2 separate regions of the Homo sapiens genome follow, and region 1 is linked to region 2. The links are contacts of gene promoters, found by promoter capture Hi-C in blood cells and fetal thymus (Javierre and others, 2016). All regions are on one chromosome and are shown on one strand. The core of a region is centred on a gene start or on the middle of the fragment in contact, and the rest is flanking DNA. Distances in the headings are between cores, read along the strand shown. Region 1 has its middle 79 kb from the start of SPANXN3. Region 2 holds the start of SLITRK4 (SLIT and NTRK like family member 4).

Region 1 (3,050 bases), core at 387-2,886, 200 kb before region 2:
TGAATTGAACATAATGGAATAGACCTTTTTTTAATGTTTTTATGGCAGTAGAAGAGTTGGGTCAAATGGTCATCTTAAAGTTGTGCCTTCATGTGCAAGTAAGTTAGTCATTATGCCTGCGAACAGTTAAGTCATTGAATAAGTAAGGCACCCTTTAGTTTCCATCCATCTTCATTTTCAATAATGTCTAAAATCTTATGAAAAGGAGATTTTGTTCAAGGCATGTGATTGCTGTTTTCTGATATTATGACGTGGATATTTAAGCCAGGACACTGAGGTTTGACCTCGCTGTGGTTACATGCCAAGGAAATGTGTATGAACATTTTACATCGTTCACACTAGTCTAGTGGCGTGTAGAGCTATAATGAAGCCAGAGGGAAAAGGAAAAGTCAGTAATACTGATCCTGTCTTTATTTAAAATTTTGATGTTTTATTCGTTGTGTATCTAATGCATTAATTTTGATTTTTAAAAAACATTGGATTAAAGTATTGTTTATCATTATACTGAGTTTTTTGGCTATCCTTGAATTTTGCAACGAAGGCAATTGCCCCTCACTCACCCTACACTAGTCTTGGTCCTGCACCAGTCAATATAAACCTGTGGGGTTTTTTGGTATTTATTTCAATAGTTTTGGGGGGACAGGTGGTTTTTGGATACATTGATAAGCTCTTTAGTGATGATTTCTGAGATTTTGGTTCACCCGTCGCCCAAGTAGTGCACACTGTACCCAATATGGATTCCAGAAGCACCTTCGGGGCATATGAACGCTATTTGATTTGTAACCACTAGATGGAGACTTTTTCATTAGGTAGCACAGACCCCCTCACTCAATCTCTTGAGTTAAAGGGTATTGTAGTTGTCAGAGATACAACATCCAAACCTGGGAAAACTATATTCTTGGTTAATTCAAAACAGGAGTTAGGGAGAATTTTTATAAATAGTAAAGGCGGTTGATACCGTTATTATCAGAGTCCAAATTGAGGAATCTCGGTTTTGGCTTCTAAATCTGCTTTCAATTCCAACTGTGTTTACTATGTTGAATCTCAGTTTCCTTATGCATAAAAGGCAAGTAGTCATAGTATCTACCTATTAGGATTGCTTTCCGTGCAAATATAAATTTGAAATATCCTAACAAAATGACTGGTCATCAATAAATATTAATTACATTTTCTCTTCCCTTTTTTTTTTTTAACAGAAGATGTGAAATAGAAAGAATAGTCTATTAGCACCAAGGGAAATGCGTTCAACATTATGTCCCCTCCCAATTACTGTTATTCAAAACCATGTTTAGAATAACAAAACTTCAGAAATGCCAAGAAAGCTTCCACTCTGGCTAAGCTTATTCCAGAGATCAGCTCCTGGTCTTCTCCTAAGTCAGACTACCTGCTATGGAAGTGGACTCATTTATTTCCATCCAACAAATGCTTTTAATGCACCAGAATTTTGTGTGCAGGATTTTGCTAGGGGTTGAGGACATAGAAATAAGACAAAACACTGTTACTAGAATCTCGCAGTATCTAAATTAGGTGTGAGGTTAAATAATATATACATAAGTTATGATTTGATTCTACAAATATTTATTGAGATTCTACAATGTACAGGACATTGCACTGGGCAATGACTGGCATAAAAAATGCCTAGCACGGTCAGAAAAACACAAACCTGTTAGAGACAGAGACCCACATTCAAATCTCAATTCTGCTTCTTCCTGACTGTGTGACCATTTATGAGTCCCCAACTTCTCTGAATCTCATTTACTCTCAACTATAAAATGGAGATCATTCTCTCATGTGACTGTTGTGAGGATAGCATGTTATTCTGCATACTGCATACTGCTTCGGACAGCACCTGACACATAGTAAGAACTCAAAAAGAGTCAGTTATTATGAGTAATAATAGTAATTTTAGGATCCACCAACAAACTGTGTACTATGAAGCTTCCAGTGTAGAAGTTGTAACGCAATGACTTCTCTTCTATTTCTTCTTAACCTGGCTCATTCTCCTTCCCAGTTGAAATAATGAGATGAGATTGTTTTTCTGATAAATTTATGAAAACAATCTTCTAATGAGGAAGACTCTCAGGAGAATCTTCCTTACAGATGGGCATGCAGAAAGCAGTGACGTATCAGTGAAGAGGTTGAAGAGTGGGTATTTTGTAAATTTGTGTGTTTATTTTTGGAGGTATACATACTATCACCATAGTAGATTTCAAGCTACCAAAGGTATAACAACCAGCTAGAGAAATTTCTGAAAATTTAACAAGCGGTTCTCCTGGGCCAGTCTGAACAAATTCCAGCACACCACTGGCAGAAAGCCTATGGGTGCCCATCTGCATTGTTTAAGGTATTGAGGACTTCTTAAGAAATACAAGCCATAGATGTTTTCAGATTTATTTTGAATTTTTAAATCAGGATTCTGAATCTTTACTAAAGAACTTCCCAATGTAAAGTTTTCAGTCTTTCTCTTTCTCTTTCTTTCTTTCTTTCTTTCTTTCTTTTTCTTTCTTTCTTTCTTTTTCTTTTCTTTTCTTTTTTCTTTTCTTCTCTCTCTCTCTCTCCTTCCTTCCATCCTTCCTTCTGTCCTTCCTTCCTTTTTATTTTTAATTGACTAATAATAATTGTATATATGTACAGGGCACAATGTGATGTTTTGTTCTACGTATACAGTGTAGAAAGATTTGATTAAGCAATTTAACATATTTATCTATCATATAGAAGTGGAGGCTGTTATCTTGAGTGAAGTAACTCAGAAGCAGAAAGTCGAAGACAGCGAGTTCTTATAAGTGAGAGCTAAATGATGTGTACGCATTAACATAGACAGTAGAATAATAAACATTGAAGACTCAGAAGACTGGGAGAGAGGGAGGGGGTGAGAAATGAGAAATGACTTAATGGATACAATGTGCAATATTAGGCTGATGGCTACACTAAAAGCCCAGACTTCACCACTATGTAATATATCCATGTAACAAAACTACAGCTGAACTCTTTAAAACTCGAACTCCTGACCTCATGATCCTCCCACCCTGGCCTCCCAAAAGTGCTGGGAT
Region 2 (3,124 bases), core at 168-2,667:
ACCAACAGGACCCAAACTAAAAATAATAAGCTACCTGCCCCCTCGGCTCGCGTGCGCGCGCGCGAGATCTCTCTCTCTCTCTCTGTCTCTCTCTCACACACACACACGCACGCACACGCGCTACTGAGCTGAGCGGGGAAGAGGCAGCACGCGTGTCGGTGCAGCTTGTGCAGCCCCCGCTGAAAATTCACCCACCTCTAGAGCCCAGCGTCTGGTGCAGGGCCCGCGGCGCCGTGACCTGCGCTGCTGTTTCCACGATGGTATCTATGTGATTCCGGACAGAGCTCCTCCGCGCCCGCTCGCCCGTCAAACCCACGGAGCAGCCCCAGCAGGCGAGCAGGCGGGCCGGCGGGCAGGCGGGCAGCGGCGCGCGCGCGCACCCGAGCAGACACCGCGCGCGCACCCAGCGCCTAGCACACGGGCTGCACCTTTACATACACGCGCTGAATCCCCGCCCCCGCTCTCCACCACCCCCCCCCACCCCGCACACAAGCAGTCCTTCCTCCCGACACTCGACCACTTTGACCCCCTCACATTCCTGAGCTCCTACCCCCGTCCCCCATCCAGACATGCCCATTTGATTCCTCTTCTACCCACACACCCAGAAAGACAGCGCGCTTTCCTCCCGGCATCCGCCCCCTCTTTTTGCCTAAAACATTCCCTAGGGAGGAGCGACCCCTTTCCTCAGGCGTGGAGACCCCAGTCCTCTAACAAGGGCGCACTCGCCTCCATCCCCCCCACCACATACACACACACTCGAGCCCTTTTCTTCTCTTCCAGTCCCCTAATAACGAAGGAACACACACACACACACACACACACACACACACACACACACACACACACGGGGCATTCCTTTGAGAGAGCAACCAAGAAGCCAGGAAAAGCCAAAGAAACACTGGAGAGCCTGGGGGAGGGGGGCCGAGGGAGATCGATAGGGTCGTCGAGTCTACGCGGAATTGAATAATTACAGGATGGAGGGGAATGAGTCAACAACAATGACATTCAAATGCAACAATCATACTTGGATTTTGTATCACGGGTACGGTACCTTTGGCTAATTGTCACCCCGCAGAACGGAGGGCTCCTGGAATACTTCTCCGTGGCGGTCGATCCTGGAAGGAGCCTTCTTGGGAACCAATTTCCTAGGATCCAGTAGTATTCGCACTCCCCCTACCTGTCTGCGCGTAAGGGGCCAGGGGCTTTAAGGCGAAAGTGTGAGGCTTTAGCCTAAAGTGAGACTATTTAGCCGGGTTAGAAGGAGACGGGTTAATTATCCGCACCTTAGAACTCCGTGGGCCTTTGGTGCAGAATGGGTTAAGCCGGATGATCTTGGAGCTGGGGGTGGGGATAGGGGATAGGGGATAGGGGTTGAGGAAAGAGAGGCGTGGGACTGGGAGAGATGCCGCACTTGCGACCAAAAGAAAAAAAAAAAAAAAAACTACTTTGGCTACTGAGCATGCCCAGTTCCCAGCTCAAGCCCTATAAGGGAGGCATTGTGTGCATTCCACTTCTCCGGGCTTTGGTGGTGACCGGGAGGGGAGTTTGACTGGGGAAGGGGGTGGTAGTTGGGAGACATTAGGGAAAGGGGGTTGGAGAACAAGGTTTGAAGCTTTGGGACTGCTCAGGAGGGACTGTGAAGAGAGAAAGGGAAGGGACCCACGGAGTACCTTCGGGAGACGGGGAGAAGGAGAGGAAATGGACTAAGAAAAGTCACTTCAGTCGCCCCTCATTGTGTATACCAAAGAGGCTTTAGCAGCTGAATCTGAAATATCCAGTGGCTGCAAATCCAACGTGTGGATTGTCTAGGCCCCTTCTTCTACCCTTTTTGTTAGTGCTTCCACAAGAGATAAGAAATATTCTGAGGAAGGGCCAATGTTCAAACCAGTTTCATGCAAATTGATAATTTCGTTAATAAGCTTGTTAAGAAAATAAATAAACCTGGGGGAGGGGAGCAGAGAGGAGTTGGCTATCATGTATGTATTTCAGATACCTGGCTTTCCTAAACAAAAGGCATAAACATTGGATGTGCTCCCATCCCCCAACCTTGCTGTTTTTTGTAGGAGCTTGGCTAAGAAAAACAACTCTCTCTCTCTTCGTGTCTGTGGGAATAAACTAGCTTTAGGTAAGTAGAGCTAAGTTATAAATGGGAAGTATTTCCCTAGGACTCTTGGTAGCCTATTATTTGCCACATTCAGGTAATACTGCCAGGCCCATTTCTTCAGGACCAGTGTGTTGCCCAATTTACTTATTCAAATCCCAGCGGCTCTAGCCACAATAGAGCACAACCGGTATCCAGAAATGTTCTTGCTTAAAAATGAAAAAAAAAATCTTTAAGCTAAAACTAGCAACAGCTTTGAAACCAGAATTTGGCTGTCTGCCTGAACTCCTACAGTTAAACATTTACCATAATTGGTTGATGTTTAAAGGCCCCAAATCTAGGTAGAAACATCTGATGGGCAAAGGATTTATTACATTATTTGTGAATAATGGTCTACCTTCTGTATCATCTATAGTAGTCATTCATATACATGTTTCATTGTTTTTCATTTTTTGTCATTTTATGGGACTTCCGTCAGGTTATATTCACACAAATGTTCACCGGGCACAACATGTATACAGAGATGCACGTACAATATGTAAATGAATACTTAAATAGATATGCGTGTATGGGCATATTTCTTTATGACCTTGCTAAATATTGTGTCGTTCATGAAGAACTCTTTCTCTACCTTCACTCCACATTGCCTTGAAAACTGTAATCATCCTCTCTTTTACAAACAACCTAGAGACAGAAATTGGGCAGCATTGGTAAAATTTATCTTATTCAATGTGAAATCCATTATGAAATAGCATTAAGGAAACACTAAAATATTTGTCTATAACAGCGTATGTAATTGTGCAGCTCCTTTTAGCAAAGTGAATGATGTTTCCTTCATAGGTAACAGCTGCAGAATGTTGAAAAATCCCTCTACTCTTGCACACTTGGACAAAACAGATCCTGCTAATTAATAACTCACATTTGCATTTTATTGTGTAATGCAGTTTGAAAGTAGTAATGGGTATCAAAACAAGTTGGCATTTATTCTAAATGCTAACAATTCAGGAAGCTGAATATATTTTA

Evidence for each region. The method cuts DNA at HindIII sites, captures the fragments that hold promoters and counts their contacts. A CHiCAGO score of 5 or more calls a contact.
Region 1: a fragment that was not itself captured here is called in contact with the fragment with the promoter of SLITRK4 in region 2 in 3 of 17 cell types (M2 macrophages, M0 macrophages and M1 macrophages); the score reaches 17.0 in M2 macrophages.

What each region holds. Positions count from the first base shown.
Region 1 is chrX:143,436,848-143,439,897 of GRCh38, forward strand. No RefSeq gene overlaps it. Among named protein-coding and RNA genes, the nearest start is that of SPANXN3, 79 kb to the right of the region's middle. The HindIII fragment of the contact is 599 bases long and covers 1,338-1,936 here.
Region 2 is chrX:143,634,684-143,637,807 of GRCh38, forward strand. SLITRK4 (SLIT and NTRK like family member 4) reads right to left here and starts at 1,418. Exons shown (of 2, transcript NM_001184749.3): 1 at 1,052-1,418. The HindIII fragment of the contact is 4,708 bases long and covers 1-1,610 here.